Regions from separate parts of the Homo sapiens genome. Here region 1 is linked to region 2. Evidence: promoter capture Hi-C in 16 types of primary human blood cells and fetal thymus (Javierre and others, 2016). All regions are on one chromosome and are shown on one strand. The core of a region is centred on a gene start or on the middle of the fragment in contact, and the rest is flanking DNA. Distances in the headings are between cores, read along the strand shown. Region 1 overlaps LOC105371240 (a long non-coding RNA gene). Region 2 holds the start of LONP2 (lon peptidase 2, peroxisomal).

What was found. Contacts are between HindIII fragments. The CHiCAGO score rates a contact against its expected background, and 5 or more counts as called.
Region 1: a fragment that was not itself captured here is called in contact with the fragment with the promoter of LONP2 in region 2 in 4 of 17 cell types (endothelial precursors, M2 macrophages, fetal thymus and 1 more); the score reaches 6.0 in endothelial precursors.

The regions. Positions count from the first base shown.
Region 1 is chr16:48,635,260-48,642,297 of GRCh38, forward strand. All of the region lies in intron 1 of LOC105371240 (a long non-coding RNA gene), which reads left to right. Among named protein-coding and RNA genes, the nearest start is that of N4BP1, 29 kb to the left of the region's middle. The HindIII fragment of the contact is 644 bases long and covers 1,021-1,664 here.
Region 2 is chr16:48,242,736-48,249,699 of GRCh38, forward strand. LONP2 (lon peptidase 2, peroxisomal) reads left to right here and starts at 1,565. Exons shown (of 15, transcript NM_031490.5): 1 at 1,565-1,886. The coding sequence starts at 1,654. ABCC11 (ATP binding cassette subfamily C member 11) reads right to left here and starts at 4,804. Exons shown (of 30, transcript NM_001370497.1): 1 at 4,579-4,804. RefSeq lists an enhancer at 1,501-1,590. The HindIII fragment of the contact is 24,694 bases long and covers 1-6,964 here.

The DNA.
Region 1 (7,038 bases), core at 93-2,592, 390 kb after region 2:
AAAAGAAGAAATCTCATTGAGAGGTGATATTTGACAAGAGTCTTGAAGGAGGCAGGAGTAATGGAGAGGGTGCGTTCTCTGTTCCAGAGGCTAGACTGAGGGAGGAGGCAGGCGGCGTGCACACCAGTTCCCAGGAGAGATGTTTCCCTTAGGTGGCCTTCCATGACATCCACCACACACTTACGCTTCCATCTCATTTTCCAGGACTCACATACACGACCATCTCTGTCTCCAGGGAAGACTAGGCCATGCAGGGAGGGGAGATGGATGCCAAGCCAGGCGTCTGCCACCTCAGAAGGTGACACTTGAGCTGGGTGCTGGTGAATGAATGCACAGGCTTATTTCAGTGAGTAGAGATGATGAGGGGCATTCCAGGCAGAGGAAATGGAACGTAAAGGCAGAAAGGAGTGGAAAAGAATGTTTGGGAAAATACACGCTGGATGGAGTGACTGGAAGAGAGAGAGAGAGTGTGTGTGTGTGTGTGTGTTTGTGTGTGTATGTGTGTGTATGTGCGTGTGTATGTGCGTGTGTGTGGGTAAGGGTGAAGCACACACAGAGGTCACAGACTCAGATGCTCTCAGAGTTGAGGCAGGAAGTGAATGAGGCCAACAGAGATTAAGCAACAGGGAACAGTGGAGTCTGTGGCATCTTGGTGTGCTCAGCTCCCATCTGAAGTGGGTAGCTGTGATTTTGCTTCAAGTCGTATAATATAGGACCAAGGGGGCTGGATAGTCTAATTTCTTCTGAGCAGCCAAGAATCTAGATTTTTATATAAAATCCTCCAGTTTTAACTAATTAAACATTTTAAGCATGCTAAGTGAACATGTCGGTAGCTTGGACATGGCCCATAGACAGCTGGTTTGTGTGGGGTAATATAGAACATAAGGGGGTGGACCCACAGTTCATTGCTGGAATCAAGCTAAATAAAATATCTCAAAGGGCAACAGGGGCAAGTTGAAAAGAAGAAGGACGCTAGTTAGCCAGTTAAGACCGATCACTTTGTCTCAGGGTTTCGTTCTAAGCTTTGCTGGTTTAGAAATTCTGCCAGGCGCAGTGGCTCAGGCTGGGGGTGGTGGCTCACGCCTGTAATCCCAGCACTTTGGAAGGCTGAGGCGGGCCTATCACTTGAGGTCAGGAGTTCAAGACCAGCCTGGCCAACATGGTGAAACCCTGTCTCTACTATAAATACAAAAATTAGCCAAGTGTAGTGGCACGTGCCTGTAGTCCCAGCTACTCGGGAGGCAGAGGTTGGAGAATCGCCTGAACCCAGGAGGTGGAGGTTGCAGTGAGCTGAGATCGCACCATTGCACTCCAGCCTGGGTGACAGAATGAGACTCTGTCTCAAAACAAACAAACAAACAAACAAACAAAATAGAAATTCTGCCTTTCTTTTCTCAATACTGACATGAGCAGACTCAGTAGGACTGGCTCACACTAACTATCAGTCAGGATGGGCTAGGCTCTGCTCCAGTGACAAATAATCTCCAAACCTCAGCGGCTTCACACAACAAAACTGTATTTCTTGCTTATTCTACATGTCTAGCACAGGTCAGCAGAGGGACTCATTTCATCGTTGTGCCCCGGGATCCGGGCTGATAGAGTCTCCATTTCAACCATTACAGAGGAAGGAAAAGAACTATAGCAAATCCCTCACTGTCTCTTCAAGCTTCTCCCCGGAAGAGACCCGTGTTATTCCACTCCCTTTTCATTGAAAAAAGCAAGTCACATGGAAAGCAAGTCACATGGACTCAACTAATTTCAAAGGAGTGGAAATGCAATCCTAGCAGTTTCTTGGGAGGAGAGAAGAACTGGAATATTTGGGGTTAGCTCTAATTACTATGTTGCCAGCCATGCTTCCAGGAGGTGGATGGAGAAACCACGAGACACATAACAGATCCAGCTCAGACTCCTGTGCTCCTTGATAGGCACATTTCCTCCTGGTCAGCAGATCTTTCTGGGAGGTGCAGCCAGGTGGACCATCCTCATGGCCGGTGGCATCCCCTGAGCCTCCAGCTGTACTCTAAGGTAAGTGCCTAGGTAAGGCACTTACACCCTACACCCTCTGCTCCCTGACCCTGGACAGTGTCCAAGACCACATAGACTGCTGTGTTTCTGCCCCATCTTTCGGAGTTGCCCTACACACATTCCCTTCGGATAAAGACTGTTCTGTCAGTTGTCTATGTCTTTCTTTTAAAAAAAATTGAGAAAGGGTCTTGCTCTGTCACTCATGCTGGAGTGCAGTGGCACAAACATGGCTCACTGCAGCCTGGACCCTCCTGGGATTAAATGGTCCTCCTGCCTCAACCTCCCAAGAAGCTGGGAGTACACAGGTGCACAGCACCTGCCCAGATAATTTTTTGATTTTTTTTTTTTTTTATAAATACAGGGTCTCACCTTGTTGCCCAGGCTGGTCTGGAACTCCTGGGCTCAAGCAATCCTCCCAAAGTGCTGGGATTATAGGCATAAGCCACTGTGCCCAGCCTGTTTACATCTTTCTAGATCCATTCACAGCCAGACAACACTGTGGTTGTTTTGATTGGATTTGGGATATTCTAGAGACTCGTCAATTTTTTATATATAAGCACTTTTTTTTTTTTTGAGACAGAGTCTCGCTCTCTCACCCAGGCTGGAGTGCAGTGGCACGATCTCGGCTCACTGCAAGCTCCGCCTCCCTGGTTCATGTCATTCTCCTGCCTCAGCCTCTCGAGTAGCTGGGACTACAGGCGCCTGCCACCATGCCCAGCTAATTTTTTGTATTTTTAGTCGAGACAGGGTTTCACCGTGTTAGCCAGGATGGTCTCGATCTCCTGACCTCGTGATCCACCTGCCTCAGCCTTCCAAAGTGCTGGGATTACAGCCGTGAGCCACCGTACCCGGGCCATAAGCACTTCTTGGTCATGAGTAATATCCTCTTTTTTTCTTTTTTTTCTTTTTTTTTATCCAGTGACTTGTAAATCAGAATGAGTAATGTCTTCAGGTGTTTAAACCTGATTCTTATTTTTTGCCTTTTTTCCTCCTCATTTTACTTTCAAACTTTGACTTTTCCTTTGTAATCCCCTGCAGCCTGATTCTTCCAACCATGGCCCTCATATTGAATTCACCATCCTCTCTCATCCTGCATTTAAGCCCTGCAACGGGCTAGCTTGTGTCTTCCCAAAATCTATATGTGGAAGTCCTAACACCCAGTACCTCAAAATGGGACTGTGTTTGGACACAGGGCCTTTAAGGAGGTGATCAAGGCAAATGAGGTCATATGGGTGAGCCCTAATACGATATGACTGCTGTTCCCATAAGAAGAGATTAGGACGCCGACAAGCACAGAGGAAAGACCACATGAGGACGTGGGGAGAAGACGGCATCTACAAGCCAAGGAGAGAGGCCTCAGAAGAAACTGGTCCTGCTGATTTTGGCCTTCCAGCCCCCAGAACTGGAGGAAAATAAATTTCTGTTGCTTAAGTCACATAAATTTGTAGTAGTAATTTGTAGTAGTACAAATTACTACAGTCTGTAGTAATTTGTTGTGGCTGTCCCAGCAAACCAATATAAGCCTTCCTCCCTACCAAAAAAACGACCTTAATCCAGATTAAGTTTATATAGTGAAGGCTCCTATTGAAAAAATGGGATCTAGGTGGACAAGTGTTACTGCAATGTTGAGGCCTGGGAGGAGCACACGCCTTCCCAATGATCACCTTGGAGTGCAGTGATGAGTTCTAACGGTGTTTTCGCAAAGGGTGGTATATACACCGGTGGTACAGAAAATGAGGTTAACAGTTACACGGATGAGCATGATGTATACAGTAGGCCCTCTCTATATTCATGAATTCCGCATTTGTGGCTTCAACCAACCAGGAATTGCATTGTACAGATTTTATTTAAATTAATTAATTAATTAATTTTTGAGACAGGATCTTGCTCTGTCACCCAGGCTGGAGTGCAGTAGCATGATCTTGGCTCACTGCAACCTCCACCTCTTGGACTCAGGTAGATCTTCTCACCTCAGCTTCCTGAGTAGCTGGGACTACAGGTGGCAGTCAACACGCCTGGCTAATTTTTTGTAACTTCTTCTGGTAGAGATGGGGTTTCACCATGTTGCCCAGGCTGGTCTGTCTTTAACTCCTGGACTCAAGCAATCTGCCCGCCTTGGCCTCCCAAAGTGCTAGGATTACAAGTGTGAGCCACCATGCCCAGCCTGTACAGATTTTATATCTTGTCAGTACTGTAAAAAACACAGTATAATAGTTATTTATATAGCATTTACATTATATTAGGTATTATGAGTAATCTAGAGATGATTTAAACTATGTAGGAGGATGTGCATAGGTCATATGCAGATCCTACACCATTTTATACAGGGACTTGTGCATCTGCAGATTTTAGTGTCTGCAGGGGGTCAGGAGTGCCCTGGAACCAATACCCTCTGTGGAATGACTATGTATATTTTAAATTAGAAAAAATATATTATTAACATATCAAACCCATTCTTTTCATGGTTATTGTTTTTAATGAAGAGCTAAGTTAAAAAACAGGTAACTGATTTAAAGTTGATTTAAAAATTAGTTGGGTGGACCAGGCGTGGTGGCTCACGCCTGTAATCCTAGCACTTTGGGAGGCCGAGGCAGGCAGATCACCTAGGGTCAGGAGTTCGAGACCAGCCTGGCCAACATGGTGAAACCCTGTCTCTGCTAAAAATACAAAAAATTAGCCAAGCATGGTGGCACGTACCTGTAATCCCAGCTACCTGAGAGGCTGAGGCAGGATAATCGCTGGAACCTGGGAGACAGAGGCTGCAGTGAGCTGAGATTGCACCACTGCACTCCAGCCTGGGTGACAGAGCGAGACTCCATCTCAAAAAAAAAAATCAGTTGGGTGATAAGTGAATATAGCAAAATATTCTTACAAATAACGAAGGTATATTCAAATGACTGACATCTGGGAAATGCTGAGCTAGGGCCTGATTGTGTTTCTGGGAGGATGAGTGTGTGTTGGCAGGGGCCCTTCCACGTGTACCCTCTTAACCTGCCACATGCCTGGTTATGGGTCTGAATGAACATTAATTTCAAAATGATTTGATACAGTGTGATTGTACCTGCTCCAAACTTCTAATTCCAATATAGATTGAATTGCACAGTCCTTCACATTACAGAGGGAAAGAGGAAACAGGGCCAGGGGAAAAGGACATGGAATGTAAGAATGAGAATTACTATTTAATAAGGCAGCCCTTTGTGCAGGCACACACATGCAGAGAGAGAAAACTGTCCTGGTAAGATCACTGGGAAATTAGAGAAGAGAAAATACAGGAGAATGGGGCCAGATGCCAAGCCCTTAGGATCCCTTGGCCCTTAACAATCAGCAAAGGGCTTAGATACTTGTCCTCTTGATTACTCTGAACTACATCTTGTAATTACCAACTTCAGTCAAGAAACACTAAACAGTTTATCCTTCAGAAGCTCCCTTCAAAATCCTCTTTGGCCTGGCTCCTGCCCTCATCATGCCATTAAACTGCCCTCTCAAAAGCCACCAGGGCTCTCGGTGATTGTCTCAAGTTTGCAAAAAAGGAGACCAGCGGTAGCCAAAGAGAAGCTATATCCTTAACTACCGCTGCTCAGCTGGCTGGGGGCAAAGCTGAGGGCCTCTTGTTTCCTTAGTCTAGGGATTATTGCTACATAGAATTTATTATTATTACTATTATTATTTTAATCAAAAAATGACATATTGTGTAGATTTTTGGTATACATTGTGAAACTTTGATATATGTATACTTTGTGGAATAATTAAATCAAACTAATTAATGTATCCATCACCCCACACACTTATTTTTATGAGAACATTTAAAATTTACTCTTAGCAATTTTCAAGTATAGAATACATTATTATTTACTATAGTCATCATGCTGCACAATAGATCTCCAGAATTTATTCCTCCTGTCTAAATGAAATTTTAGGTCCTTTAACCAATATCTCTTCATTGTTTCCTCCTCATCTCCAGCCCCTGATAACCACCAATCTACTCTCTGCTTCTAAGAGTTCAATTTTTTTTTTTTATTCCACATCCTAAGTGAGATCATGCAGTATTTGCCTTTCTGTGCCTGGCTTATTTCACCTAGCATAATGTTCTCTAGGTTCATCTACGTTGTCACAAATGACAAGATAGCCTTCTCTTATAAGGATGGATAGTATTCCATTGCATATATATGCCAGATTTTCTTTAACCATTCATTAGCCGATGGATGCTTACATAGATTTTATATTTTGGCTATTGTAATAATGCTGCAATGAACACAGAAGTGCAGATATCTCTTTGATATACTGATTTCATTTTATTTGGATTTATAACTAATAGCAGGATTGCTGGATCATATAGTTGTTCTATTTTTAATTTTTCTAGGAGCCTCCATACTGTTTTCTGCTATACATTTCCACCAACAGTGTGCAGGGGTTCTCATATCTCCACATCCTCACCTATACTTGTTACCTTTTATCTTTTTGATAACAGCCACTCTGACAGGAGATGAAACATCGCTTTGCCAGTACAATCCTGAAGACAAATCACAATCAAAGCAATGGCTACTAAGAGGTGGAAGTGGCCCAGTCAAAACAAAAGCAGCCTGGTCAAGAACAAAGGTCATGGCAACAGTTTTTTGGTTGCTTGACACATTTTCCTTCTTGTCTTTCTAGGGGCAAAGAATGATAACATATGCCTATTATGAGAGTGCTTTGAGGAAGTTAGCTAGCAGAAAGATGCTTGACAAAGCCTCACCAGAGAGTCCTTCACCACGACAATGCCCCTGCTCATTCCTCTCATCCAACAAGGGCAGTTTTGTGACAGTTTCAATTGGAAATCATCAGGCATCCACCTTACAGTCCTGATTTGGTTCCTTTTGATTTTTTTGTTTCCTAATCTTAAAAAAAATCTTTCAAGAGCACACATTGTTTTCAGTTAATAATGTAAAAAAAACTGCATTGACATGGTTCAATTCCTAGGACTCTTAGTTCTTTAGGGATGGACTAAAATTTAGCTGGTATCATTGCATACAAAAG
Region 2 (6,964 bases), core at 315-2,814:
GTCCTTTGTAGGGACATGGATGATGCTGGAAACCATCATTCTGAGCAAACTATCGCAAAGACCGAAAACAAAACACTGCAAGTTCTCACTCATAGGTGGCAACTGAACAATGAGAACACTTGGACACAGGGTGGGGAACATCACACTCAGGGGCCTGTCGTTGGGTGGTGGGGAGTGGGGGGGAAGGGATACCATTAGGAGATATACCTAATGTAAATGACGAGTTAGTGAGTGCAGCAAACCAACATGGCACATGTATACATATGTAACAAACCTGTACGTTGTGCACATGTACCCTAGAACTTAAACTATAATAAAAAATAAAATTAAATTAAAAACAGAAAAAAAATAAAAGTATCAAGGTTGTAAAAAAAAAAAAAATTGGACGGGCGCAGTGGCTCAGGCCTGTAATCCCAGCACTTTTGGGAGGCCAAGGCGGGCAGATCACGAGGTCAGGAGATTGAGACCATCCTGGCTAACATGGCGAAACCCCGTCTCTACTAAAAATACAAAAAATTAGCCGGGCGTGGTTGCGGGTGCCTGTAGTCCCCAGCTACTCGGGAGGCTGAAGCAGGAGAATGGCATGAACCCGGGAGGCGGAGCTTGCAGTGAGCCGAGATCTCGCCACTACACTCCAGCCTGGGTGACAGAGCGAGACTCCGTCTCAAAAAAAAAAAAAAAAAAAAAAAATTGAGGACTTGCCACAGATTAGAGAACACCTAGGAGATTTCATAACAAAACACCTAGGAGATTTCACAACAGGATCCTGGATATTGGATCCTGGACCAGATCCAATGAAGGACATTAGTGGGAAAACTGGCAAAATTTGGGTAAGGCCTATAGGTTAAACGATAATAATGTTAATTTCCTGGTTTTGATCATTGAACTATGATTATGTAAGATGATAACAGACGAAACTGGGTGAAAGGTATATAGGAACTCTGCTGTAGTTTTGTACATCTAAAATCAATTCGGGCCGGGCACGTTGGCTCACGCCTGTAATCCCAGCACTTTGGGAGGCCGAGGTGGACGGATCGCTTGAGGTCAGGAGTTAAAGACCAGCCTGGCCAACATGGTGAAATCCCCTCCCTACTAAAAATACAACAATTAGCTGGGTGTGGTGGCGGGCATCTGTAATCCCAGCTACTCGGGAGGCTGAGGCAGGAGAATCGCTTGAACCCGGGAGGCAGAGGCTGCAAGCCGTGGGTATCGCGCCATTGCACTCCAGCCTCCGCGACAGAGCGAGAATCTGTCTCAGAATAAATAAATAAATAAATAAATAAATAATTAGTTCGAATCAAAAGTTAAAAACACTTCAAGTATATGTAAAAAATCGAAGAAAACGTTAAAAACACTTCAAGTATATACAATTCAAATAAGATCATCCTTCCAAATATACTCTGTAAGTGAGGCGAAGGTCGCTGCACGCTTGAGTGCACGTCTTTCCGCATAGGTAGGACGCTCAAGTCTTACCGGGAGGCTCTCCTAGAGAGCAGCGCGAAGCCATGGCTTTTGGGCCCGGGGACGGACCGTAGCGCGTAGCCGGAAGCGGAGGCGTGGAGGCGGGTCTGAGGTTTGGTGACTGCGGGGCAGGCCGGGGGCAGCTGTCTGTCTGGCTCTTTTTGACAGCCCCCAGTGCGAAAGGCTGCCAGCATGTCATCAGTGAGCCCCATCCAGATCCCCAGTCGCCTCCCGCTGCTGCTCACCCACGAGGGCGTCCTGCTGCCCGGCTCCACCATGCGCACCAGCGTGGACTCGGCCCGCAACCTGCAGCTGGTGCGGAGCCGCCTTCTGAAGGGCACGTCGCTGCAAAGCACCATCCTGGGCGTCATCCCCAACACGCCTGACCCCGCCAGCGACGCGCAGGACCTGCCGCCGCTGCACAGGTAGGCCTGGCTGCCCCCGCGGCGGCGGCGGGCGGCGCGGCCTCCTCCGGGGACCTGGGCCCAGGCCACGGCCTGCCTTGAGCGCGAGGCTCAGTTCGGGGCGGCCTTCGCGGCTCGGTTCCGCCTCTCTGGTGCTATCACTTGCAAAATGGGGATGTCAGATACCTGCCCCATGACCATGAATGAGATCGTTCATGAAGTAGTGCCTGACACCTGGTGAAACTACGCAGTTCCCTACCGTTCTGGATAATTTAATTTGAATCCTCTTCCCCCTCTCCGCAATTCCTCGCCCTCGGTCTTCAGCCTCCTAGGCCAGTGCTTTTAACTTTCCAGGCCCTTTCTTTCTCCCCGGTGATCTCTGCCTTCACTTGCCTTCGCTTTTCACCTTTCTCCCCACTGCCCTTTACTCCTATCCGCCTCCCCTTTTCTGTCACCCATCATTTTTGTCCGCTGAGGCATTCTCTGCTCCGTGAGTTTTAACTTTTCCTGTTTCATTCCTAAACTGCACTATTTGTGGGTGCCTTTCTTCTATACTCCCTGCCACCCTTCTCCTTCTCCCCCTAATCCTTCTGTTTCCCTTTGTAAAGGGCCTTTACTGCTCACATTTTCGCTGGTCCCCCTTTCTGGAACTTTCCTAGCTTCTCACCTCTGCTCCTTCACTCATAACATTTCTTAGGCCCCAGGCTTACTACTATATTGCCCAGTACCCTCGCCCTATTGGTGTGACTTTGGGTGAGAGCTTTAACCTCTATTTCTTTTATTCTGCAATTTGGAAACTGACAGCATCCATCTCTTAGGCAAGTTATGAAGAATAAATTGAATAATGTGTATATTCCACTTTGCACCATGCATGATGGATGACTTTGCTGTCCAGTACTGTGTAGTGCATGTGGCTCGTCAAATTGAGATGATAGAATTGCCAGTTGTCCTGGTTTGCTGCGATTGTCTGTTTTAGCATTGAAAGTCCTATGTTTTAGCCCCTCCGTCCCAGGGAAACCAGGAGGTTGGTCACCCTAAATGTGCTGTAAGTGTACAATACACGCCAGATTTTGAAAAAACTTTTTGATTAATACATTTTATATGGATTAAATGTTGGAAAGGTAATATTTTGAGTACTTGGGGTTAATAAAATGTTAAGATTTCTGCTGTTTTTACTTTATAATGTGGCCACTAAAATTTTATATGTGGTCCACATTATATTTTTATTGGACAATGCTGGTATATCGTATGCTCTCAACAAGTATCTTCAAACTCACCTGCCAAGCACCCGCCTCCTATTCCTAACTCTACTGGAGGTGTTGTGTTTTCAGTTTAGAGCTTCTCCTTTCCTGGCAGTTATCCCTTATTTTTAAATTAGGGGTTCCTGACTCTGAATGGATTTCCGGAGGGTTGGACATGTCTTATTTTTCCTCAAAATCTTGTGACTATGTACATTTTTTTAGGAGAATCCTTTGCTTTCTTCAGATTCTCAAAGGAGACTGGTACCTCCCCCCACCCCCGTTAAAAGAAAGCAAAACAAAGCAACAAAGACCAACAAACCTTCCACAGCAGCCCAGTATTCATTTATATTGTAAAAGCCTTGATTTTCTCAAGCATGGAAAATATTTTGGCTCCCATCTGACCTGCTTTGGTTATTGCCTGAGTGGAATTGGTCACATTCCAAGTTTCAGTACTCTTTGATAAATTGTATTGGATTCTAGTTTCCCAACATACGACTCTGCTCCTTCTGCTTACTTTTCCCAAATTATTTTGCCTTCTGTGCCCAGGCACACTTAGTTCCCTGTCTAGGCAAGAGTGGTCATTATTAGACTTCATTTTCTTTCTACTGTGCATATGTATTGATTAGCCATGGGCACATTGTGAACTTGAAAAGTCGATTTAGTCACATTTTAAGTTTCACTATTTGTTGGTATTATTCTGGCAAGATTTTGGAAGGTTTTTATTATTTATTCATTTGTGTATTTTTTGAGACAGAGTCTCATTCTGTCTCCTCCGCTGAAGTGCAGTGGCGTGATCGTAGCCCACCGCAACCTTGATTGAACTCCTGGGCTCAAGTGATCGTCCTGCCTCAGCTTCTGGAGTGGCTGGGACTATAGGCGTGCACCACTACACCCAGCTAATTTTTAAATTTTTTGTAGAAATGGGGTCTCACTATGTTGCTTAGGCTGGTCTCAAACTCCTGGACTCAAGCTATCCCCTGCTTTGGCCTCTGGAGTAGCTGGGACTATAGGCAAGCGCCACCATACCCTTCAGGTTTTTAATTTATTTTATGAAAATCCCTCCAAAGCAACAATCCTCAATTCTCCTGCTTGAAAGTAATCACTAATAATCAGGTACTGTGTGATCTGATCCTTGATGTTCATATTATTGCCTTTAACTGAGTAGCAATGTTAAAATTTAATCATTTAAATTAGAAAACATATATTGAAAAGTCTTCATAGAAGTCCGGCATTATAAGAACTCATCAGACCATCTAGTTATCCTAGAAGTATTGTTTGCTACTTAAAAAGCCTATGTGGAAAGATTGTACCATATTCCTTGGTAATAGTTTCCAATGTCTTTTTTTCTCTAATAGGGCCTTTAAAACACTCTACTTAAAAAAAAAAAAAAAAAAAGGCTTTAACAATACCAATACTGAGTAATCCATAGCATTAGCCTGTTTCCACGCACAAGTCTGTCCTTCCCCAGTTACCTGCTTTTCTGTATGGTAGCCCAGAGGCCAGAAGAGGGGCTCTGTTCCTTTCTCTTGTTTCCTTTGCGCTATCCAGGTGACGCTGGCACAGCCTTCAAAGAGCAGCAGAAGTAATTTGCTCCCAGCGTTCTTTGCCACACAGAGTGGCAGGATTAGATGTTGACTTACCTCTGCCACTTCCTTGGTGGTTTTGAGTAGTACAGTCCCTTTCTGCACGTTAGTGTGCAGGCATGTTGCCTGCAGGAGCCTTTTTAAAGGAGGAGCTTTGGACTTGTCCTGCAGTATAGAACTTGGCTGGCATGCTGACCCAGGGCACCCTGCATTTTTCTGCTTAGTAGAACTGCATTTTTAGTGCTTCCTGAGTGACCCATTGTTTTCTTAGTGAAAAGGGGTCATAATTTAGTACTACCTGTACAATATCCTTTCAAGCATTTCAAGATGGTCATCCAGCTTTCTTCCAAATTTACACTTTTCAGGGTACATGGCTTCATTTCCTCATAGTGCCGACTTCTCAGTCTCCCTCACCAGGCTGGTGTCAAACTTGTGAGCTCAAGTGATCCTCCTGCCTCTGTCTCCCAAAGTGTTAGGATTACAGGCGTGAGCCACCATGCCTGGCCTATGTTTATAATTCTTGTAGGTAGAAGTGGTACCTATTGTCCATTGTAATGAGAAAAAAGTAAAATTTGTCTTAAAATATAATTAAGGAACTCAATTTATTAAATTTAAATTTATCCTTTAAATTTTAAATTTAAATTTATTTCTTAAATTTATTTCTATTACATTTTCTTGTAACCATGTACACCTAAGTTGTTCTACTTTAATTTTTTTGAGACAGGGTCTCACTCTGTCACCCATGCTGGTGCAGTGGTGCCATCTCAGCTCACTGCAACCTTTGCCTCCCAGGTTCAAGTGATCCTCTCACCTCAGCCTCCTGAGTGTCTGGGATTACAGGCATGTGCCACAATGCCTAGCTATTTTTTTTTTTTTTTTTTGGTGGAGACGGGGTTTTGCCATGTTGCGCAAACTGGTTTCGAACTCCTGAGCCCAAGTGATCCACTTGCCTCGGCCTCCCAAAGTGCTGGGATTATAGGTGTGAGCCACCATGCCATGTTCTACCTTTTTGAATCTCATTTACTCACTTGTAATAAGGAAATAATACTACCTTCTTCATGGGGTGAAGGGAGGTATAAAATGAAGTATACATATGAAAGCCTTTTGAAACTGCAAAGCATTCTAAACCTATATCCAAATGGGTAGTTTTAAATGTAGATTTTCACAAAAGGGGATTAAAGAGAGGAGTGGGGAGGCCCCATATTATTCCAACACGGGCTGAACTGAACTAACATCATTGCAGGAAGGTCTTGGAAGATTAAAGATTCCAAGAAAAATTAAGGGCTTTGAGTAAAAAAATTTTTTAAAAGTGGCTGGGCCTGGTGGCACGTGCCTGTACTCCCATCTACTCATGATGCTGAGGCGGAGGATTACTTGAGCCCAGGTGATCGAAGCTGCAGTGAGCTATAATCGTACCACTGCACTCCAGCCTGGGTGACAGAGCAAGATTCTGTCTATAGGAAAAAAAAAAAAAAAAAAAGCAAGTGCTGGGCATATAGGCTGGAATTAGATATTTACATAATATCCTCATCTTGGAAAACTTTTTCCAGTAGTGCTGCTTTTAGATTTTCCCACTACTGCAGTTGATGGTTCTTAAATATGTTTGGAACTCTTATATTATTTAGGTCAGTTTCCAAATTACACAAATTGTAACCATTGTAGTCAGACCTCACTTGAATGAAAACAATATTTTACAAACTCTGAGGGTAGATTCGAGTTAGGATTTGGATTAAAACATTATCTTAAAACCTCTGAGGGTAGATTCGAGTTAGGAGTTTCAAAACTTCTTTGAACAATATCATAATTAGGATGTAGATTTACAGAGCTACTAGCTAAAGGGAAGGACACCAGTCATTGGGATGTATAAGTTTGGATCTGTTGCAAAATTAAAATGCTGCCTTTTGAGCATGCCTAATAATGCACATACAATAGAAGAGCCAGAATTTTTAGAAAAATGACTGACTTGATATACAACCTTTTGTATATCATAGAAGGAAAATATTAGTTGAGTATTTTGTTTATTTACCTGTTTGTATATATAAAACCTGGGGCCCAATATACAATAGATTCTTTTTCACTATGCTTTTCACCCACAGTGTCTCACCAGGTACTCTGTTTCTAGCCATCTATAATTTCATAGATGTTTTTCTTTAAAAGGGATGTATTCTAGGCTGGGCGAGGTGGGTCTTGCCTGTAATCCTAGCACTTTGGGAGGCCAAGATGGGAGGATTGCTTGAGGCCAGTAGTTGGAGATCAGCCTGGTCAACATCATGAG